6 separate regions of the Homo sapiens genome follow, and all the other regions are linked to region 6. Evidence: promoter capture Hi-C in human tissues and cell types (Jung and others, 2019). All regions are on one chromosome and are shown on one strand. The core of a region is centred on a gene start or on the middle of the fragment in contact, and the rest is flanking DNA. Distances in the headings are between cores, read along the strand shown. Region 1 overlaps PRRT1B (proline rich transmembrane protein 1B). Region 2 overlaps NUP214 (nucleoporin 214). Region 3 overlaps RAPGEF1 (Rap guanine nucleotide exchange factor 1). Region 4 overlaps RAPGEF1 (Rap guanine nucleotide exchange factor 1). Region 5 overlaps RAPGEF1 (Rap guanine nucleotide exchange factor 1). Region 6 holds the start of PRRC2B (proline rich coiled-coil 2B).

Region 1 (3,503 bases), core at 791-3,290, 160 kb after region 6:
GGCACCCGCCACCATGCTCCGCTAATTTTTTGTATTTTTAGTAGAGACGGGGTTACACCGTGTTAGCCAGGATGGTCTCAATCTCCTGACCTCATGATCCACCCGCTTCAGCCTCCCAAAATGCTGGGATTACGGGTGTGAGCCACCGCGCCCGACCTGCGTTTAGTTTTTCAATTCATACAAAACCGCATCCAGGCCATCACCAATCATTCTATACGACAAATGCTCCTTCTAACAACCCCACAATATCACCTCTTACCACAAAATCTTCCTTCAGCTTAATCTCTCCCACTCTAGGTTCCCACGCCGCCCCTAATCTCGCTTGAAGCAGCCCTGAGAAACATCGCCCATTATCTCTCCATACCACCCCCAAAAAATTTTCGCTGCCCCAACACTTCAACATTATTTTGTTTTATTTTTCTAATTAATATAAGAAGACAGGAATGTCAGGCCTCTGAGCCAAAGCTAAGCCATCATATCCCCTGTGACCTGCATGTACACATCCAGGTGGCCGGTTCCTGCCTTAACTGATGACATTCCACCACAAAAGAAGTGAAAATGGCCTGTTCCTGCCTTAACTGATGACATTACCTTGTGAAATTCCTTCTCCTGGCTCATCCTGGCTCAAAAGCTCCCCCACTGAGCACCTTGTGACCCCCACTCCTGCCCACCAGAGAACAACCCCCTTTGACTGTAATTTTCCTTTACCTACGCAAATCCTATAAGACGGCCCACCCCATCTCCCTTCGCTGACTCTCTTTTTGGACTCAGCCTGCCTGCACCCAGGTGATTCAAAAGCTTTATTGCTCACACAAAGCCTGTTTGGTGGTCTCTTCACACGGACACGAGTGAAACCCGCCACCACACCTGGCTAATTTTTGTATTTTTAGTAGAGACGAGGTGTCACTGTGTTGGCCAGGCTGGTCTGGAACTCCTGACCTCAACTGACCCACCCGCCTCGGCCTCCCAAACTGCTGGGATTACCGGAGTGAGCCACCGCATCCAGCCATGTTCGCCTCTCTAAAAATGATTATTACTGTGATTTATCTTCACTTTACAGATGAGGAAATGGAGGCATGGAAAGTTTGTCACATGCCACTTCCCCCTTTTAGAGAGGACAAGGTCTCACTCTGTAGTCCAGGCTGGAGTGCAGTGGTTCAATCACAGCTCACTGCCCCCTCCTGTGAGGAGGCCACAATGTCTGGCCAAGTGTGTTTACCTTGACCTCATGGAGCATGGTTATAATGGCTGCTTTTTCTGAAAATTCCAATATCAGGTCATCTCAGGGTTGGCATCTGCTGAGTGTCTTTTCCTTTGAGCATTGGTCACTGTATGGCGAACAGTCTTGGATTGTGTCCTGGACATTGTGAATAGTATGTTGTGTAGATTCTTGGTCCTGTTACAATTCCCTGGAGAAGGTGGGTTTGTTTGGTTTCAGGAGGCAGTCAGCCTGCGTAGTTTCAGGCCAGAAGTTCTGTTTCACCTTCTATGAGTGGCATTTCCAAACTTGGGTCAGTTTTCAGAGTTTTTTTTTAGGCTGGTCTGGGTTTGTCTCCTGCACATGCAGTTTGGGGGGGAGCCCAACCTCTAAGGTTTTTTTTTTTTTGAGACGGAGTCTCACTCTGTAGCCCAAGCTGTAGTGCAGCGGTGTGATCTCGGCTCACTGCAACCTTCACCTCTGGGGCTTGAGCAATTCTCCTGCCTCAGCCTCCCAAGTAGCCGGGACTAGACACTTGTGCTGCCACACCTGGTTAATTTTTTTTTTTTTTTTTTTGTATTTTTAGCGAGACGGGGTTTCATCATGTTGCCCTGGGTGGTCTCGAACTGCTGAGCTCAGATGATCCACCTGCCTCGGCCTCCCAAAGTGCTGGGATTATAGGCGTGAGCCATTGTGCCTGGCCATTCTCTAAGTTTTGACTCCACTCCGCAACCTCCCTGCTTTTGTTTGTCTTTCAGTGACCTCAGATGCTTCCTTTTTGTATTTTGTCTAGACTTTTCAGTTGTCATCAGCTGGAAAGACATGCTTTTAAAAAATGGTGCTAAATATGTATAACATACGATTTACCACTTGAACCACTTCTAAGTGTGCGATTCAGTGGCATTAAGAACACTCACATTGTTGTGCAGGCATCACCACTATCCATCTCTGGGACGCTTTCTCATCTTCCCAAACAGAAACTCTACACCCTTGAAACACTAACTCCCCAGCCCCAGCCCCTGTTAACCTGGAGAGAAAGGTTTTTAAAGCTTCTGCTTACAAAATGTTTGTCAATGTGCCATTGTGCAAAGCACGTCACATGGTCAAGCCCAGATCCAAGGGGTGGAGAAACAGAGGGAACATCACAGGTAAAGGTGTGGAGGTATAAACAGCGTGGCAGGTGTATGGGGTGCAGGGGCCATGAGTGAGCCCCTAGCTGCTGGGAGGGGGTTGAGGCAGGACACGCCCAGGGGCTCATCATTCCCTGCCATTGGGATCACTCTGGCAAGGATCCCTGCCTCCACCCGTGGGGGACTTCAGGAAGGGTCCTCCCACCCCCACTGAGATGTCTGTGTGATGTCTGTTTCACTCATCCCTCTGCCTTTTATAACCCTTAAGGACACTTAGGAAATGGACCTCCAAAGCCAGACCCCTGGCTCTGGGCTGCCCACTTCTGCAGTGAGGCCTGAATGCCCACGCAGGTCAGGGGAGGCCACTCTGCGATTCTCTTCCAGGGCCTTCCTTGTACCCTTGCCTGAGGCCCTCTGGTGCTCAGCTGGTCGGGATGCTCTCAGGAGGTGCAGCCTTAAGAATTTGTTGGGACCTGACCAGGCACCACCAGGACCTATCGTTGGGTGCTGAAGGCCAGGGCCTGGGTCGGGAGCAAGGCAGCTGGGCAGCTTTGAGGCTCTGAGCCCTGGCTTCAAGCTGCTGGGCCCTGTATATTCTGGTGTCCATTCTCAGTGTGCATATGGCCCTTAGTGACCTCCTGGCTCCACCATGTTACTCTAGCTACAGTTTGGCAGCTCCTGGGCACCTCACCCCTCCCCTACAACTCCAAGCCAAGAATCTAATTGGTTCAGCTCATCTCCTCAGGTAGGCGTCCCCTTCATTGGAGGTGTATCTCAGGACAGCCAATCAGGGGCTTCCCTGGGCGGATTATCCTTTTCTGGTCCAATTAGCTTTGACATAAAGGCCTTAGTTGGGGGTGAAACTACCTCCCAATAGAGGCCATCTGCCAAGGAAAGGGGGTGGGACAGTGCGGGGAGGGGCGGGGTCAGCAGCCTGGGTTCCCACCCAGATGAGTCGCTCAGTCTGTGTGACTCCAGCAAGGCAGGTGGCCCCTCTGGGCCTGTTTTTTAGTCCCTTTGCGTCACGATCCTATGAGGCCCAGCTGCAGAGGGCTGGGAGCTTGGTTCGTGGGAACTGCGGGACCAGCGACGTCCCACCTAGCCCGGCGGCCTCTTGCTCACGACCGCTGCCATTTCTTTCTAGGGTCCGACACGAAAGGGGGCGGCAGCCCCGC
Region 2 (3,627 bases), core at 322-2,821, 190 kb before region 6:
ACCAAGAAAAATCCAGATGATGTAGAAGTCACACTTACTCTGGCAGTATTGGAATTATTTACTGCTGTATAACAAATTGCCTCAAAACCTAGTAGCCTGCAACAGCTACTTATTTATTATAGTCTTGGATTCTGTAGGTCATAACTTCAGATGGACTTAGTAGGGATGGCTTGTCTTCACAGTATCTGTGATCTCAGCTGGAAGAAGGGAAGACTGGAGGCAGGAGTCATCTGAAGGCTCACTCTGATGTCAGTGGTTGGCTTGGCTGTTGGCTCAGACCTTAGCTGGAGCTGTTAGCTGAACACCTACATTTGGCCTATGTAGCCTGGGCTTCCTCACAACGTGGTGGCTAGGTTCCAAGGAGGAACATTCCAAGAAAGAGGAAGAGCCATGCTGAAGCTGTATAACCTTTTATGACCTATCCTCAGAAGTCACAGAACATCACTTAGGCTGCATCCTCTTCATCAAGGCACTCACAAAGTCCCATCCAGGTTCAAGAGGAGATACAGAGGCCGCCTCTTGCTCTAGAAGAGCATATGTGACTAGAAGTATTGCTGTGATCATCTTTGGAAAATATCTGTCATAATGGGACCATTGAAGAGTGGCAGAAAGCCTTGTTGAACTGGTTTCCAGAGAGTGGAGCCCATCATAGGTGTGAGCACTGTGGCACAGCAGCTGCTGGGGGCAGATGCCAGGTCTGGGTTTGAGCAGGTAGTAGAGAGGACTTGCCAAAGACTGAGAAAATGTACTGGCTGGAGAAGGAGCTGTTGGCAGTGATGGGGGCAAGCAAAATAAATGACCAGTAATTACATGAAAAGGTGATCAAGTAGCATTAAACTAATGAGGGAAATGAAAATCAAAACCACAATTAGATAAGATACCACTTCACACCCCCTAGGATGGCTATCATTTAAAAAGTAAAAAATAAAAATAACCAGTGTTAGCAATGATACAAAGAAATTAGAACCCTCATACATTGCTGATGGGAATGCAAAATTGTGCAGCTACTATAGTTTGGTGGTTTCTCAAAAAGCTAAATATAGTACTTCTACCATATGACCCAGCAATTCTGCTCTGGGGTAGAATACCCAAAGGAATTGAAAAAAAGGGATTCGAACAAATACTTGTACATCAATGTTCATTGCAGCATTATTCACAGTAGCCAAAAGGTGGAAACAACCCAAGTGTCAAACAGCAGATGAATGGATAAACAAAATGTGGTATATACATTCCATGGGATATTTTTCAGCCATAAAAAGGAGTGAAGTTCTTGGCCGGGTGCAGTGGCTCACGCCTGTAATCCCAGCACTTTGGGAGGCTGAGGCGGGCGGATCACGAGGTCAGGAGATCGAGACCATCCTGGCTAACACAGTGAAACCCTGTCTCTATTAAAAATACAAAAAATTATCCAGGCGTGGTGGCGGGTGCCTGTAGTCCCAGCTACTCGGGAGGCTGAGGCAGGAGAATGGCATGAACCCAGGAGGCAGAGCTTGCAGTGAGCCGAGATCGCGCCACTGCACTCCAGCCTGGGCGACAGAGCGAGACTCCGTCTCAGAACAAAACAAAACAAAAACAAAAGGAATGAAGTTCTCGGCTGGGCATGGTGGCTCACACCTTTAATCCCAGCACTTTGGGAGGCTGAGGCAGGCATATCATGAGTCAAGAGATGGAGACCATCCTGGCCAACATGGTGACACACCGTCTCTACTAAAAACAAAAATTAGCTGGGCATGGTGAAGCTCGCCGGTAGTCCCAGCTACTTGGGAGGCTGAGGCAGGAGAATCGCTTGAACCCAGGAGGCGGAGGTTGCAGTGAGCCGAGATCACGCCACTGCACTCCAGCCTGGGCGACAGAGTGAGACTCCATCTCAAAAAAATAAATAATAAAAAGGAATGAAGTTCTCATTCATGCTACATATAGATAAACTTTGAAAACCATATGCTAAGGCTGGGCGCAGTGGCACACACACCTGTGATCCCAGCACTTTGGGAGGCTGGGATGGGCAGATTGCTTGAGCTCAGGAGTTTGAGACTAGCCTGGGCAACATGGCAAAATTCCATCTCTACAAAAAAAAAGACCCACAAGTTGGCTGGGCGTGGCAGTGCATGCCTGTAGTCCCAACTACTAAGGAGGCTGAGGTGGGAGGATCACTTGAGCTCGGGAGGTCAAGGCTGCTGCAGTGAGCTATGTTCCTATCACTGCACTCTGGCCTGGGTGACAAAGTGAGAACCCTGTCTCAGTCAGTCAAATTTATTTATTTATTTAGAGACGGAGTCTTGCTCTGTCGCCCATGCTGGAGTGCAGTGGCACAGTCTCAGCTCACTGCAACCTCCGACTCCCAGGTTCAATCAATTCTCCCACCTCAGCCTCTCAAGTAGTAGCTGGGACTACAGGTGTTCACTGTCACACCTGGCTACTTTTTGTATTTTTAGTAGAGTTGGAGTTTCACCATGTTGGCCAGGCTGGTCTCGAACTCCTCACCTTAGGTGATCTGCCTGCCTCGGCCTCCCAAAGTGCTGGGATTACAGGCGTGAGCCACTACACCTGGCCTCAGTCAGATATAAAAATTAAAAACTCAGATTGGGATCTGAAAGACTTGTAAGTGCAACAATAATTTATTCAGCATACATATCCTCCAGCTCTCCCCCGCTAATCCTCCCCAACTTTGCAAAGAAAAAGGAACTAAAGCAGCACTAAAAAGTAGAAAGAACTCACAGGGTCTTACATTCTCCTGTTTTCTGGAACTCTTGTTTGAAAGGTGATACTTCCTCTTGCCTCCCACCTCAGATACTTACAGACCAATAACCTAAAACCTAAGTGGAGACTGTTGGGCTAACCAGAGGTGAGCTCAGTCTTCTTAAATCTGTGACTCTGTTCCAGATCAACCCTTAGTGAAATCTGAATAATTATTTCCTCACTTTAATCAGACGAAATGGGAGCTCTCACTCTCTAGGAAAAGCATTAATGTTCTTCAGTCACCACTGTTCTTCCATAATACAAACATACAGAGCAACCAAAAAAGAGAGTGACACCCACAATTAAATTTTTAAAATCAGCAAAAACCAACCTATAGATGATTCAGATATTGGAACTGGAGACAGACTTTAACTGTCATGTTCATAGGGCTTATGGGAAAATAGTTGAAACAGTGGTTGAATAAGGAATCTCAGCAGAGAAATGGAAGCTTAAAAAAACCAATGGAAAGGCCGGGCACAGTGGCTCACGCCTGTAATGCCAGCACTTTGGGAGGCCAAGGCGGGCGGATCACGAGGTCAGGAGTTCAAGACCAGCCTGGCCAACATAGTGAAACCCCATCTCTACTAAAAATACTAAAATTAGCCGGCATGGTGGCGCGCCCCTGTAGTCCCAGCTACTCGGGAGGTTGAGGCAGGAGAACCACTTGAACCCAGGAGGCAGAGGTTGTGGTGAGCCGAGATCACACCACTGCACTCCAGCCTGGGAAACAGAGCGAGACTCCATCTCAAAAAAAAAAACAAAAACGCAAGTCGTTATCTGTATTTGAAGTTTAAATCTAGTACGTGAAATAAAAAACAAAATAGGCTTAACAGCAGAGTGAATACTACAAAAGAACAGTGAACTCGAAGACGTATCAATAGAAATTATCTA
Region 3 (3,556 bases), core at 227-2,726, 250 kb after region 6:
TGGACAGTGTACTCAAGTAGTCGATTACATGTCTAGTGCAAATTAAGAGGGGTGTGTATGAGGCAAACAGCCACCTGCAGGATCTCAGAGGTCTAGAGGATATAAATAAAAACTGAGGGCAAGAAGATAATTTCTAGAAAAAGGTGATTTAAACAATATACAGACAAACAAATGGTAGAAATTAATAAAAAGTGCTTATGATTCTGAATACTAGCTCTTTTCTTCTAAAATAGTGCCGATTGGCCAGGTGAAGTGGCTCACACCTATAATCCCAGCACTTTGGGAGGCCAAGGTGGGCAGATCACTTCAGCCCAGGAGTCAGGACCAGCCTGGGCAACATAGTGACACACCGTCTCAATTAAAAAAATAAAGTTTAAAAAAAGGTGCAGAATATCATTTTAAATATAAAAATGTTCAATAGTAGAGGCTTTTATTTCATGGGAATGTCAAAAGAAAAATATATAAATGGCTACTTTAGTCAGACAATGCACAAAAGACCCAGTCATTTCTTTCATTGAGTCTTTCCCACAAGGTGTCCTGCAGACTAGAAGACACAATTCTCCCATGGTGGGGGAAGTGCCCTTCCTCATCCCCATCCCTGGGTCCTGCACCCTGGCTTTATTTTTCTCTTTTCACTACCTGACAGATTTGTTTACGGTCTGTTTCCAAGAGGCTGGGCGCTTACTTTTCCACCTCGTGGACAAGAGCTCTCTGCTTCATGTCATCTGCCCGGGGCAGGGAGGAACCTGAGTGTGAAGGAGTCGCAGTGCCGACAGACCTCAGATGTGCCTAAAGCCATGGTCAACCAGGCAAGAAGAGGACTATGACAGTAACACTGCCACCTTAGCACATCAGAAAGTGTTAGAGACCAGCAATGATGAAACTTGCTGAGGAACAGGAAACATTTTAAGAAAATGTGTCATCAGGTCACACAGGGAGAAAGTGGCTAATCTGAAGATGGGAGGCACTCGAAAGTGGCAAGGCACTTCAGAGCAGAGAGTTTTTCTGTCATTGCAGAGAGATCAAATCAGCTGTTTAAGAGTCAGGCTGTCCTGGGCTCCTCCTAAAGGAGCCAACAATGTAGCACAGCCAGGCTGCCTCCGTGAACTCAGATTCTACTCCCAGAATTAATGGCCTCTGGGTGTTGTGCATTCTCCAGCCTTTCAGCTGTCAAGCTGGGGATCCTTGTGAATGCAGCCAGCAGTGAGAGTTCACAGCCACACAGCCACATCCAGCACTGGCTCGGACTGGGGACTCCATGCCTTGGCTTTGCTGAAGCTGCCTCGCTGCATAACCCGAGGGCAGGTGCGTTCACCTGCGCACCCCTCCTGCTGTGGGGGATGGATTGCCATCATTGGTCCACATAAGCCTGGAAACTAAATGAGGCTGTCCGTGTCTGGGGATGGCTTAGAGACAAAGCCAACTGCTGGGCTTTGGGCTTGTCACCCACAAAATGGGGAGAATAACATCTGCCCCGTGTAACTAAAGAGGTGACTGTGGGGGACTGAATGAGAAAGCATATGAAGTGGTTCACAACATTTAACAGGCACTATACCAACACCAGAGACCATATACCTGCCAGTAATAAAGCAGAGAAAGAGGGCCTAGGATGGGAACATCTGAAAGGGAAGAAAGAGGCCAGATCGTAGCTACCACTCATCGGGGACATGGAGGCACCCACTGTGCTATGGATTTTATATAGGCTATTTTGTTTAAAGGTTACAACCACCCTGTGAAGTGGATACTATTATTTCACAGGTGGGGAAACTGAGGCTTAGTGGGACGTGGGGGAGGTTAAGCAACTTGCCTAAGGCCACACAGCTGTAGTGACAGATATGGAATTTGAACTTGGTCTGTCTGAGTTCAGAGCCTGGAGAGATAGAGAGGAGAATAAAGACCAGATCAGAAATGTGCTGAAGTTAAAAAGTTTACTTGAGATCCCCTGGTCAAAAAGATCTCATTTAACAAACGAGTAAACTAAGACCCCGATGGCAGAGATGGACATAAAATCCCCATCGCCTTTCCTGCCCCGTGGGCCATATTCATTTCTGACGCCCAGGCTGTGGCTCCACAGCCATGTGCTGCCACAGGAGATGGCGGGGAAGAGGGTGAGGAAAACTGGCCCTCCTCTCCAGACAGTTCTCTCCCCACAGCCGTGCCGCAGCCGGGACACCCGACTTGCTCTGTCACTCCTTGTCCCATCTGCAGCCTGGGTGCCTCCCCTCTCCACAGCAACATAAGCCTCATTTCCACACTATAGGACAGTGTACCCTGAAAATGTGGGTAAAGCCAGGGAGTGAGGGGGAGGGCAAGTCACAATCAGTATAATAAAAAACTAGAATTGCAGGATTAAAAAAAAAATGGCAATGCAACATTATTCCTATTAGTCCAGAACAGTGAGGCCTAGCAAGAAGACATGTCGAACACAGACATTGGTTACAATGAGAGCACCAAATCACCACCTGCCACCAGGCTGTCCGGCAGCAGCATCTCCCTGGAAGAGCTGAAGGGGAAAGGCTTTCAGGAATCCACCCAAGAGCACTCGGATCCAATCTCTGTCCAAATGCCCTCAGAGATGGGGCATTAACACCTCCCAGGACCCCCTGCTCACTGCTCATTGTAATTATACCTTTGGACACCCAGTATATGGCTAAATTTCCTCTACAACTTCAACACTCTGCAGCTCACTGCTAGACTTGTTAAAAGGTTGCAAAAAAGTTTAGAAGTTCATCACAATGTACTTTGAATTTTTAAATTCACTAAGAAGATGCAAGAGACTGCTAATGTGGAATCAGTCTGGGAAGACAACAGAATATAGTGAGAAAAACAGATTTTGATCAAGAAAATGTGCACCAGGGCCAACACTGTCTGCACAGTGGGAATAATAAAAGCTTCCCCACACAATTATGGTGAGGAGTAAATAAGACAGCATGTCTGAAACCACCCAGGACAGGGCTGGGGCGAGAAGGAGCCCTCGGGAAGTGGCAGCGAATCTGAATCTGTACTTTCATCTCCCTGCACTTCCATTTCCCTCGTATCTGAGCAGGGAAAGCCATGCATATGACCTGAAGTAAAATAAGAATGTACGTAATCACTCCCTAAGTGGTAAGAGAGCTAATGAATAATCAACGAGGGCAGCAGATGACAGACCCACTGCAAGGTTTCTTGGACATAATCCTCTAAGTCCACGTACTCTGGGAAGTTTCTCAATGCTTCTGGTTCTGTCCATGGGCCTCCACGAAGCAAGAGGTTCGCATTTACTTGTCCCACGCAGGTGGCTTGGGACAGAACACAGACATCCAACCCTTCCTAATGAGCAATGATGAAAAAGGGGTAACATTCCTTCTTGGGTGAAGATCACACCTACAGCTCCCTGCTACAGAACAGGTTTCTCAGCCTTGGCACTACTGACATTTTGGGGCAGAGAATTCTTTGTTGTGTGGGGGGCTGTCCTGTGTATTGTAGGATGTTTAGCAGCTTCCCAACCCCTACCCACTAGAAGCCAATAACATCTGCTTTGCCTTCCTATGGCAACAACCAAAAATGTCTCCAGACA
Region 4 (3,889 bases), core at 975-3,474, 230 kb after region 6:
ACTCGAAATTGTTCTAGAGTTCTTTCCCCTGTGCTAAGTTTCATTTTAACAGACGAAAGGGAGAATGGTGGCCATTTTGGTTCCTGGACATGCGCAGATGCCAGTGAAAGACTCCCCTCTTCAGTGTCAGCCCCTAGGCTTCAGCAGTAAACTGTTTACCCAAATGGCTGCAGCCCATTCCCTTCCTGGACCCATGCCCCGTGCAACATGACTTAGTAGCAACTACCATCAAGAGGCAGAAGCAACTTCCCTGCTCCCTGAATCTGGGCTGGCCTTGTAATTTAACTGAGCAAATGCAATGGAACAGGCATCACACTACTTCTGAGCTGAGGCCCTAAGGGGCCTTGCACGCTTCCATTTGTTATTTTTGGAAGCCCGCCAGCTGTCATGTGAACAAGCCCAGGCCAGCCTGATGGAAGTGACAGACTACATGGGTCACAGCCAAATCAGCCCCATTGTCTCAGCTCAGGTCCCAGGGATGTCAGTGAGTTCAGCCAAAATTGGCCAAGCCTGGGCCAGAGCAGCACACCCATCCTGCTACCCCCTGTCCTAAGCAGTGACAAATGCTCACTATTATTTTAAGCCACCAAGTTTTGGGTGGTTTGTTATGCAGCAAAAGCAAACTAATACATCCCTGAGAGTCAAACCATCCTGCGCTAGTGAAGCCTGCTCTCCTCGACCTGGCTTTCTACGTGAGGAATAGTACCACCCATCTACTCATCCATCTCATCTATCTTATCTATTTATTTTGAGACAGGGTTTCACTATGTTGCCCAGGCTGGACTTGAACTCTGGAGTTCAGGTGATCCTCCTGTCTCAGCCTCCTGAGGAGTGGGGACTACAGGTGAGTGACACCACACCTGGCTATATTCCTTTTTAATCCTGGAACACAGAGGGCTGATCCAAGGTCCAAAGCGAGATTGGGATAAAAAGGCTAAAATGTCTCTGTCAGTTTATGCCAGACTGGTGATGCTCCCAAGGTGGCCACTCACATTTCCCATGCCTGCCCCTGCCTCACCTGGATGCCTCATGGTCTTTAAGGCCCCAGAGAACCAACCATTCATAGCCTTCCCATCTAGGTGTAGGGACCCGCAGAAGGGCAGGGGCCGCGACGGGCAGCAGAACACATGGCTGAGGCACACGCTTCCAAGGAACGGCCCTGTTCACGCGTTTCCAAGTAAAGAACAGCAGGGAGCAACTCACCGAGGGCACGGGCAAGCTGCCGTGCCGGCTGAGAAAGGAGTTAGAGACGGACACACTGAGGCCCTGAGCGGCACTGCCGTCCTCGGGGGTGAAGGCCACTTTAGTTTGCTGGACACAGTGGGAGACAGAGGAGAAGGAAGAAGCAGCACAGGAGGCCTGCTGGACAGAGGGGAGGAGAGAGAAGGCAGGGAAGGAGGGAGAGAAGCAGAGAACAGTCAGGTCCGTGCAGGGAAAGGCCGTGGAGGTTGCTCTCCACATCCTCTAACAGACGTTCTGGAGAGGGATGGCTTCTGGGCCCAGTTCAGGGACTAAAACCAGCTGCCGAAGGCCATCTGCATGAAAGGGCACCCTCCTTCATTTCCTTACACTAGATCCTAAAAATTGTGTCCACTGGAAGCAGGTTGGGTGGAAGGAGGACGAGGGGGCTGGAGCCACACAGAACTGGGCTGACTCTGGGCTTGGAGCTGCTCCTCTGTGGGGAGTGGATCCATGTGTCATTCACACGTCTTCAGAACTCAGACGGGGCTCCGGCAGCCTGGGTTTGAGTCTGGACCCTGCCATTTCTCACCCGTTTGGCCTTGGGCACTACTTAAAGGTCTCCGTGCCTCAGGTTTTCCATCTGTAAAATGGGGATAACCCTAGTGTCTCCTGTACAGGGCTGTTGGGAGGATGAAATGGGATGATACGTGTGAAGCACTTGAAATATTGCTTACCACACTGTACATGGGCCAACAGGTGTGTGTAATGAGCACCATTTTTGTCTGTGAAGTGTGGATAACGCTTCCTGCATCTGCATTTGAGAGAGGGTGTGACCAGCAGCTGGCAGGACCTGTCAGGTGGTATGCCTGGGCTGTCATTAGGATTGGGTGTGGCTCCCAGGTCTTCTGTTTCTAGCTGTGGGCTTGGATTAAGGTTCGCTGGCTCTGTCTGCCTCAATTTACTTATAATGGGGATGCCAGGAGCTGTGGCAGGGACCATGTAGAGCCAGATGAGAGCCCTGGTGCTTACCTGGGGAGGTGTTCAACACAGATGTTCCTAACAGGCCTCCGGGGGCTGAGCTCGCCACTGCCCTGCAGGCGTGGTAGAACAGGTTCTGATTCCACGTGCTCCCTAGGGGTGTCTCCCCAAATATTCAGAAGCCTGTGGACTCCACAGTATGGAGAAGATGCCCAAGGATGGCAAATGGGCCGAAAATATTTTCAATAAATCTGGCTCAGCAATGGCTTTTTTTTTTTTTTAGACAGGGTCTCACTATGTTGTCCAGGCTGGTCTTGAACTCCTGGGATCAAGTGATCCTCCACCTCAGCCTCCCAAGTAGCTGGGAATATAGGCATGTGCCACCACCACTCCTGGCTCTCGGCAACAGTTCTAACCAAACATTTTAGGCAAGGGGTCTCTAAATGAGGCATTTATGTTTCCATGGTGGGACCCTTTTTGAAACATCTTCAGAGCAATTGAGATTCACATTCTCAATTGTGTCTGTGGGACGGGCAGGGCAGGTGAGGATCTGAGACTCTGAAAATGGCACGTGCGACACGGCTAACAAGTGGCAGGACTGGAATTCAGGACTCCCAACTCCAAGCTTGGCCTTTCCTCTACTGGACATGGCCACCTCTGAAGTGGCTGAGTGTGGTTTTTGAGTGGAAACAAAACAGCTTGCTTGGTTAGCCACAGCCCACTGAGTATAGGAAGGCTCAGGAACTCCTGGGACTGGGCTGAGCCCCAGGTGATTGATTATACGGAGTAATCCAGGGACATTTGTCCTCCAGTCTGCAGCTGCCTCCCAGAAGAATCAGATGGCCCCTCATGTCCTCTCGCAATGGATAAAAGATGGCCCAGTGCACACCAGTCGCCTCCTGGTAGAAGCCACCAGACTGGCCAGCACACGAGAGCAGCAGCCCAGGCAGCTCTGAACAAGCCTGGAGCTCCCTGCTGGGGAGCTTCCTCTTCCTGGGGAGCATGGCTGGACAAGAGGCTCAGATCTTCAAACCTGACTAGGGCCCTCCATGTTCATTAACTGGCAGCAAAGGGAGAAAGTTTGGAGGGATGCCACAGGTACCCCCGATCTGCTCACCCTCCCAGTGCCTGGGCAGTTCCAGAGCCTCATGGGGTGCCCACGGTGGAACAGCTTGCCTTCTGTGCTGGCCCGTGCTTCCTTACATGCACAGGAGTCCTTAGCACACGAGTGTTTTCTAGAAGAGGAAGGTGCCATGTCTGAAACAGAGTGGCTCTGTTTAAAGCCATCCTCCACTTCAATGGCACTTGTTTTCCTTGGGCCCTCCCCGGCCAAGGCTGGGTTGTAAGTCACTCTACACAGTTAGGCCCATTATGCCAATCAAGTCCACAGATGGCTGTGCACAGACCATGTCCTGTGCTTTGATTGAGTCCCTCCTTTCTGGGAGGTCTATGTTGAAGCCAAAGAAGAAAGAAAAAAATACAAGAGACTGTCAGCAGAGAGAGCAAACACCCTGAGTACAAGCCTGTCCCTGCTGCGCGGGGCTGCTGTGGAAAAGAAAGGTCCCTGCACCCCAGGGTGGGGAGGTGGTGGAGTGGGCGCTGGGCTGCTGGTGAGCATCTAAGGAGGAAGTAAAAGCATCTGTGTGGGAGATGGTGCCTTCCACGCCCAAAACCAGGGCCCTGCCACAGCAGGGAGGAGGGTTAACCCTGCCCCCAAGGAGGGTCATTC
Region 5 (3,964 bases), core at 681-3,180, 210 kb after region 6:
TCAACAGGTCCCTATGCAATGCCTTCTCATTTCTTTTTCTTTCTTTTGCTATTTTTATTAACTGCCTCTTCAACCATTCATGCTGAGCCCTGATAATGACAAGTGGGCACTCCCTTGCTCTAAGGTCACCAAAGACCCCAGAGGTGGCTAAAGCTTGACCTAAGGAGGGAGGAAAAGCTTGAACACATGGAACATTTCATAGAGAAGGGGAAGTCAATGTGAAGTTGCAGGTGGGAGTGCCCATTTGCAGATCCTACACATCATATTTCACAGGTGCATACTGGGGAAATCTACTACGTATTTCTACACTTGGTCAGGTTTGGTTTATGCTAATATTGAAAAATGTGGCCAGGCATCATGGCTCACGCCTGTAATCCCAGCACTTTGGGAGGCTGGGGCAGGTGGATCATGAGGTCGGGAGATTGAGACCATCCTGGCTAACATGGTGAAACCCCGTCTCTACTAAAAATACAAAATAAATAAATAAATAAAAACTTAGCCGGGCATGGTGGCACATGCCTGTAGTCCCAGCTACTTGGGAAGCTGAGGCGGGAGAATCGCTTGAGCCCGGGAGGCGGAAGTTGCAGTGAGCCGAGATCGCGCCACTGCACTCTAGCCTGGGCGACAGAGTGAGACTCCGTCTCAAAAAAAAAAAAAAAAAAAAAAAAGTTATAAGACATTAAAGAGCTGTAATGACTAAATGCAATGAACAGCTCCTGATCTTGGCTGCAAAAAATTAAGATATACAAGACATTCTTGTTAGCAACATCACATGCACACATATGTCTAGAAATGTCCCTGATAACAAGTTTGTAAGTGGAGGGGGTGTCTTTTACACTCCCTATCAACTTGAAAGAGGCCAAGACCAAGGGAGGTTGGCCTGGGATTTGAAAAAGAAAAGACAAGGCTATCGTGGGTAATTTGTAAGGTAGATAATATAGGTGCAAACAATCAAGAAGTAATGGCAAACTACATGTGAAGGCCTTTGCAGGGTGGGGTTATTAGTGATTTTTCTTGCTTTCTTGCAGTTTTCTATGCTTTTCAACAGTTTCTATCCTGAGCTTGTATTATTTGAGAATCAGAAAAAAAGGAAGAGGGCCAGGTACAGTGGCTCATGCCTGTAAGCCCAGCACTTTGGGAGGCTGATGTGGGAGGATCGCTTGAAGCCAGGAGTTAGTGACCATCCTAGGCAACATAGCGAGACCTCGTCTCTACAAAAAACTAAAACAATCAGCTGGGCGTGGTACTGCATGCCTGTAGTCCCAGCTATCTGGGAGGCTGAGGTGGGAGGATCGCTTGAGCCCGGGAGTTCAAGGTTATAGTGAGCTGCAATTGTGCCACTGCACTCCAGTCTGGGTAACAGATCAATACCCTGTCTCTAAAAAACAAAAAAAGGAAATAAGGAAAGAAGGAAGAGTTTCAACTTGAAATACCCTCAGGCCTAGGGGCTAGCTGGGAGAGGCTGCTCAGGCAGGCCTCATGAGTGGGCGCACTGCTCTCGGGGGACCCAGCTCCTCTGGGTCCACTTCCTACCTCTCACTGCCGTCTCTGCTGTCCTTCCCAGGGACGCCGCTGACCGCTGAGGGATCTCTGGGATGTCCGTCTTTCCCAGCCGGTGGCTCCTGGAAAGAGGAGTGGGTGCTGAGTTCTGGACAGGGGCCCTCTGCGGGGCTGCTCTGTCTTCCCAGCATTCCTGCCTGCAAGTGGCTGTGGAGTGCAAGTTCCTATGGAGCAATCTCAGATGTGAACAAATTAAAGATGAATGCCGTTAATCACAGGAAACACAAGCCCTCAAGACTAGCATGTGGCCTTTGGAGAAAGTGAAAGGTGCCACTATTTGTCTCATCTGTAAGCTGCCAACCTAGGCAAAGCCACCTCAACTACCTCCTCAAAGAAGACTGTCATAGCCACTCCCCCCGAGCACAGCCAGGGACTGGGCTCTAGGCTGTGCCCACTTCTCCTCATTTGACTTCGTCAGTGAGCTAACACCATCGTCCCCACTCCATGCATAGAAACAGAGGCCAGAAGTCAAGGACCCTGCTCAAGACCACACAGCTCATAAACAGCAGAGCTTGGATTTGAACCCAGGGCTATCTACCTGCAAAGCCTGTGCCCTTAACCACTGGGCCCTGCTGTCGTGAACCAAACTCTGCTGATTTAAAGAAGTCCTCAGGGCTGCAGTGCTCAACCGGGTTCAGTCCCCAAAGGGCCAGCTCTCAGGCCCTGGGGTGCCAGTCCCCTCTTCCTCCGGCAGACTTGCTTCCTCCTGGGTCCCTGGGCTGGCCCTACTCAGTGACAACATGGCCCGCCAACATCCCTGGTCTGCTGCTGAGCCTGATGGAGAACTGGGGCAGGACAAATACAGAAAGAGTGCTTCAAGGCAAGGAGCCAGTGAGCCCTGGAAGTGTCACAGTGGAGGGAGAGAGCCATGCGAAGCTGGCCTCTACCTGCACGTGGACTTCACCATGGGGAGGCTGAGCCGGGGGGTGCCAGATGCACATGTCAGCAGAGGAGACAGCTCCCATGGACTGGGTCAAATCCCACTGGAGTGGACACTCTTCAATGTTCTATAACCTGCTAATGTCTGAAACAGGGCTGGCTCTGGGTGGGCCTCTGAACCCCTGTGGGGACCCTGCTGAGAGAACCACCTGAACGGGTGTGACCAAGCTCTTCACGGGTGGGGGCCCGCCCTGGGGTGGATCACTGGGAGTCTTCCAGCCCTCATGGGCCTCCCTTCAAGGAACCTGTCCCACCTGGGCTCATGGGGGGAGCAATTTCTGAAGCTTTTGAACTTGCTCATGTTTGGCTGAAGCAAAATGTGGAAAGTGGATTGCTCAATAGAACTGCTGTACCGCGATGGTCGGGAGCTGGGGCAGCAGCATCACGAGGGTGCTGACGTCGGGTACCTTGTGGCTCCCTCAGGAGGGGGTGTGCATAGTCATGGCAGGGGCTATGGGCCAGACTCACCCGCTTCCTCAGAAGCAGTCAGTGTTGGAGCAATGGGACATGCTGGGGAGGGAGATGAAGGTCTGAAAGGCCCTATGGGAAGAAGAGTCCCTCCCTCTGCATGAGGGACAGAAGATGAAGCCAACACCAGAAGATAAGGGAGGAAGGAACCCCACAGAGAGCACTAGATACACAGCCGGGGCCCGTGCCACGCTGGTCCCAGAGATTTCTAGATGACCCATCTGGCCAGGCTCTGAGGAGTGCCACACGCACTGAAGCAGGAGCAAAGGGCAGACCTCCACCTGGAAGCCACGTCCTCTCCAAAGGGCCGAGCTGGCTCCCAGCAGCCTGCAGGAGCCCAGTCTGCTGGTGACTAGGAGGGGGCTCAGCCCAACAGAAGCAGGTGCGGGGGAAGCGGCCTCGGGAGGGCAGAGCCCAAGCCCCACCAGGCCAGGCCACATGCAGGAGGCCGCCCGAGGTTACTTACTCCTCGAGAGGGAGCCAGCTCCTCGCTGCTCTGGCCAGAGGAATACAGATTGACATATTCACCCTCACCAGCTTCCTCACTGGCGTTTTCACTCTGGGGGAGACAGGACGAGAGGAAAGACACATGGGCCAGGCCCTCCAGCCGGCCCTCACAGCTGGCCAGGGGATGCCACAGCCTGCACTCTGGTCTTCCCAGGTGCAGAGAGCAAAGCTGCTTTTGCCACCTCTTGCCTCTGTGCTAGAGGGGATCCAAGTCTCCTGCTGCTGCCCCTCCAATGGTGTCTGGGGCTAAATCATCCTGGAGAGATGGCCCCACTGTAGTGGAGACAGCAGGGGTCCCCAGTGTGGCGGGAAACGATTATGGAGGGAGAGAAGCAACACATCAAGACAATCCCACATACTGGGGAGTGGGGTCCGCTGCCTGCACTTCCTCTGCCCCATGTACTTGTCTGCTCCAATCTGCAAGGCAGCATTTCTCTGAGTTGGACGAAGCGCTACAGGCACTTTAACAGGCTAGAGACCAGGCTTCTGT
Region 6 (3,978 bases), core at 1,288-3,787:
TTGGACATCTTTGGTGGGGGGCATTGTATTGCCTCCACAAAGTCTACTTTTCTTCTCTGTTGGATGGGCACACTAGTGTCTGTTTTATGGGTATGTCGTGAGGATTACCTGAGTGACTCTATAGGGAGTGTTTAGCACAGTGGCTGTCACATAGTAAGTGCTCAGTAAACCACCCTGTTACTGTTCAGCCTCCTCCTATCATTTTGTTTTGAGACAGAGTCTCTCTCTGTTGCCCAGGCTGGAGTGAAGTGGCGTGCTCTTGGCTCACTGCAACCTCCACCTCCTGGGTTCAAGTGATTCTTGTGCCTCAGCCTCCCGAGTAGCTGGGATTACAGGACCCCACCACCATGCCCGGCTAATTTTTGTATTTTTAGTAGAGACGGGGTTTCACCATGTTGGCCAGACTGGTCTCAAACTCCTGACCTCAGGTGATCTGCCTGCCTCGGCCTCCCAAAGTGGTGGGATTACAGGGGTGAGCCACCACGCTTGGCCTTACAAATAAAGAATCTGAGGCTTCAGATAGTTTATTTCTTTTTTGCTTGTTTATTTTCTTTCTTTTTTTTTTTTTGAGATGGAGTCTCACTCTGTCACCCAGGCTGGAGTGCAGTGGCATGATCTCGGCTCAGTGCAACCTCCGCCACCCGGGTTTGAGCAATTCTTCTGCCTCAGCCTCCCAAGTAGCTGGGATTACAGGCGACTGCCACCATGCCTGGCTAATTTTTGTATTTTTAGTAGAGATGGGGTTTCACCATATTGGTCAGGCTGGTCTTGAACTCCTGACCGCATGATCCACCTGCCTCGACCTACCAAAGTGGTGGGATTACAGGTGTTAGCCACTGCGCCAGCCTTACAGATGAAGAACCTGAGGCTCAGTTTATTTATTTAATTTATTTTTTATTTGTTTATTTGCCTTCTATCATTTTTATTAGTTGCTGGGTTTTGAGCACTGGGCCAATTCTATGGCCTTCCTGAAGATGGTCAAGGAACAAAATCGAAAACAAAAATTAGGGTTACATCCTCCCTGTTTTGTAGAGATAGCGAAATATTGAAGACATTGGCAGGGGAATAATGCAGATTTGATGATGTAAAACAGAGTGGCCGGCACTGTAATCCCAACACTTTGGGAGGCCAAGGTAGGTGGATCACTTTAGCGCAGGAGTTCCAGACCAACTTGGCCAACATGGTGAAATCCCATCTCTACCAAAAATACAAAAATTAGCTGGGCATGGTGGCAGATGTCTGTAATCCCAGCTACTCAGGAGGCTGGGGCAGGAGAATCGCTTGAATCTAGGAGTTGGAGGTTGCAGTGAGCAGAGATTGCGGATTGTGCCACTGCACTCCAGCCTGGGGGACAGAGCGAGACTGTCTCAAAAAAAAAAAAAAAGAAAAAAGAAAAAAAGGATAACACTGAAAATGACCATGGATAAAATGTAGGAAAATTCAGAGAATTATAAATAAGGCTATAAAAGTATCCAGAATTCTACTCCCCAAAAACTAAGCTTTGTTCACCAGCCTCAGTTCTGGAGTTAGGCTGAAGTGGGTTAATTTTCCTTCTGGGTCCAGCAGTGTGGCCTGGGGCACATTCTCTCAAAGCCTCCTTTGTCTCACCTGTGAATTAGAACAATAATATCTGCCCCTGGGTTAGGATTAAGTGAGACAAACCACGTGCTTTAGCATAGGGCATGGCCCGCAGCTGGTGCTTAGAGCAACCGTGACTGGAAGAGGGTGGGATGATTTGGGTGCCAGGCCCTAACATTTTTTTTTTGTATTTGCTTTTTGAAATTGCTTTTATAGTTGGTTAGGTGTCTAAAAAAGTAAGAACCCTCCTCCGCTCTCCCAACCTCAAACCACGGAGGTAACCAAGACAGGAGTGCAGTCTCCCGGACCTTTTGTTTTGCAATCACACAAACACACAACACTCAAGAGGAGGGGCTTATTAGTTTTCATTTTGTAAAAATGGGACAAAGTACCCATATTGTGCAACAACCTTGCTTTTGAAATGAAAAAAGTATTATTTCTGCTTCCTTTCCGTTCATATACCGTATACATATTTTAACAAAATCCGGGCTTAGTCTGTTCTGAGGCGCTGCAGTTTTGAAGGGGGAGGGGGCGGAGATCCGGGCTCGCTCCCCCGTCACTGCCCCCTCCATCCCTTCCCCCTCTTTCCGGGCGCCCTTCCCCCGGGCCCAGGCCGGGCCCATGCCCTTCCCAGGCCCCTTCTCTTGGCTCCTGGCCCCTCCTCCGGGTCTCCTCCCCGATCCCCGCTCTGCCCCGTTCTCTCCCGCCTCTCCCGCCGTCCCCGGGCCCCTCCCCACTCCCAGCCCCCTCCCAGCCCCCTCCCGCCGCTCCCCGCCCCTCCCCCCTGGCCCCAGCCCTCGCCCGGCCCCCGGGCCGATCCCAAGGCCGCCGCTCCCGGGAGGCGCGGCAGGGGGCGCTGCGCGGGCCCAGGTTGCGGGCGGCGGCGGGAGGAGGAGGACGAGGAGGCGGGGGCGGCGGCAGGCGGGGGGCGGGGAGCCGAGCGCGAGGGAGCGAGCGGCGAGACAGGCGCCGAGGCTCCACCGCGCAGCGACGAGCGAGCCCGGGAGGAGGGAGGGAGCGAGCGAGCGAGCAGCCCGCGCCGCCGCCTCGCAATCCGCCGCCATCCCGCCGCCCCCGTGCCCGACCGCCGCCCGACTGCCATCGCCCGGCCCGGCCGCGCCCGCGGAACCAGACCAGGTGGGTCGGGGCCGGGGCCGGGGCCGGGGCGTGGGGGCGGCGGCGCTAAGATGGAGGCGGCGCGGCCCGGCCGGGCTTTGTCTCCCGCGGCCGCCGCCGGGGGCCCGGGGGCCCTGCGGCCCTGCCCGACCTTTGTCCGCGAGCGCGGCCGCCGCCGCCTCCTTCCCGCCGGGCGCGGGGCTGCGGGGCTGGGAGGCCGCGGGGCCTGGGGGCGGCGGGCCCGGGCGCGCTCGCCATTGTTGTGGCGGCGCCGCGCGGCCTCAGGCTCGGGCGGGGTCCAGGGGCCGCGCGACTCCCTCAGGGCTCGCCCGCCACCCCCGTACCCCCGAGGCCGGGCCGGGCTGCAGAGGCCGGAGGGGCGGGGGTCCCGGGCCCGCAGCCGGGTCTCGGGGTTCTGGGGCCGGCGTCTTTGCTCCCCGCCCCGCCCAATTGACGGAGCAGCGCGCCCGAGGCGGGATCCTGCGGGGTCGGGCCTTGGGTCCGGGGCGCTGAGCGGCGTTCGCGGGGCCGTTCCTGGCGCGGGGTGGGCCGGGCCCCGGCGGCGCTAAAGTTGGCGGCTGGGGGAGGGAGGCGAGCGGCCGCCCAGTCTCGGTGTGAGTGCGGGAACCAGAGGGTTATTTTCGAAATGCTGAATGCTCCATGCTAAAAATGTTTAATAATAAACAGGATGTCGCCACTCGGGGCCTGCCAGATGGGGTTTTTTTTTTTTTCCTCCTCTTTTGCCTCCCCTCAACCCCCAGGAGAGAAATTCAGCCCTGTTGAAACTGTGGGCCTCTGAAGAGTGGATTTGCCTTAAGAGGTGGATTTTTTTCCTTTTTCTTTTTTCCTCCTTCTAAATATCGTGGGAGGTCGGAGCCCACCTTTAGGCAAGAATTGGAGGTGTTTTCAGTGGTGAGCTTGAAGGAAGTGGGAGAAGGGGGGCTGGGGAGTGTCTTTTGCTAAATGGCTTCCTGGGAGAAATCTTTAAATGCCTTTGGTTTACAGGACTGTTAAACTTTCCCTAAGATTTTTTTTTTCTTTAAGGTTTAGTGTGCATTTGATGTGGCTTTGTACAGTGTCATCCAGTTTGGTTTTTGTAACCAATTGTGTGCGGTCTTAGCATGGTTTTTCCGAATCTCGCTGCAGCCATTTAGTCATGTCTATGCACAGCGCTGTGGTGTAAGGTGGGACTGGGGAGGCCCAGGCATTGGGGTGCAGATCCTGCTTCTTTCTTCCGTAAACCTAGTGACTCTGGGGCTGTCTGAGGCTTCATCTGCATAAATC

What was found. Contacts are between HindIII fragments. The study calls those that stand out against the background at their distance.
Region 1: a fragment that was not itself captured here is called in contact with the fragment with the promoter of PRRC2B in region 6 in 2 of the 25 tissues and cell types used here (bladder and pancreas).
Region 2: a fragment that was not itself captured here is called in contact with the fragment with the promoter of PRRC2B in region 6 in 1 of the 25 tissues and cell types used here (pancreas).
Region 3: a fragment that was not itself captured here is called in contact with the fragment with the promoter of PRRC2B in region 6 in 1 of the 25 tissues and cell types used here (dorsolateral prefrontal cortex).
Region 4: a fragment that was not itself captured here is called in contact with the fragment with the promoter of PRRC2B in region 6 in 1 of the 25 tissues and cell types used here (pancreas).
Region 5: a fragment that was not itself captured here is called in contact with the fragment with the promoter of PRRC2B in region 6 in 1 of the 25 tissues and cell types used here (pancreas).

What each region holds. Positions count from the first base shown.
Region 1 is chr9:131,551,085-131,554,587 of GRCh38, forward strand. PRRT1B (proline rich transmembrane protein 1B) reads left to right here. Exons shown (of 4, transcript NM_001395643.1): 2 at 3,473-3,503. Among named protein-coding and RNA genes, the nearest start is that of PRRT1B, 7.3 kb to the left of the region's middle. RefSeq lists an enhancer at 331-832. The HindIII fragment of the contact is 6,801 bases long and covers 1-3,503 here.
Region 2 is chr9:131,207,144-131,210,770 of GRCh38, forward strand. All of the region lies in intron 30 of NUP214 (nucleoporin 214), which reads left to right. Among named protein-coding and RNA genes, the nearest start is that of FAM78A, 68 kb to the right of the region's middle. The HindIII fragment of the contact is 7,607 bases long and covers 1-3,627 here.
Region 3 is chr9:131,644,442-131,647,997 of GRCh38, forward strand. All of the region lies in intron 3 of RAPGEF1 (Rap guanine nucleotide exchange factor 1), which reads right to left. Among named protein-coding and RNA genes, the nearest start is that of RAPGEF1, 94 kb to the right of the region's middle. The HindIII fragment of the contact is 5,406 bases long and covers 1-3,556 here.
Region 4 is chr9:131,617,848-131,621,736 of GRCh38, forward strand. RAPGEF1 (Rap guanine nucleotide exchange factor 1) reads right to left here. Exons shown (of 27, transcript NM_001377935.1): 12 at 1,204-1,359. Among named protein-coding and RNA genes, the nearest start is that of PRRT1B, 74 kb to the left of the region's middle. RefSeq lists enhancers at 745-1,711, 3,605-3,674. The HindIII fragment of the contact is 4,787 bases long and covers 1-3,889 here.
Region 5 is chr9:131,600,528-131,604,491 of GRCh38, forward strand. It overlaps RAPGEF1 (Rap guanine nucleotide exchange factor 1), which reads right to left. Exons shown (of 27, transcript NM_001377935.1): 14 at 3,434-3,526; 15 at 1,534-1,622. Among named protein-coding and RNA genes, the nearest start is that of PRRT1B, 57 kb to the left of the region's middle. The HindIII fragment of the contact is 3,531 bases long and covers 166-3,696 here.
Region 6 is chr9:131,391,549-131,395,526 of GRCh38, forward strand. It overlaps PRRC2B (proline rich coiled-coil 2B), which reads left to right and starts at 2,538. Exons shown (of 32, transcript NM_013318.4): 1 at 2,538-2,715. RefSeq lists enhancers at 1,762-1,911, 3,038-3,799 and silencers at 2,382-2,571, 2,602-2,711, 2,942-3,231. The HindIII fragment of the contact is 30,479 bases long and covers 1-3,978 here.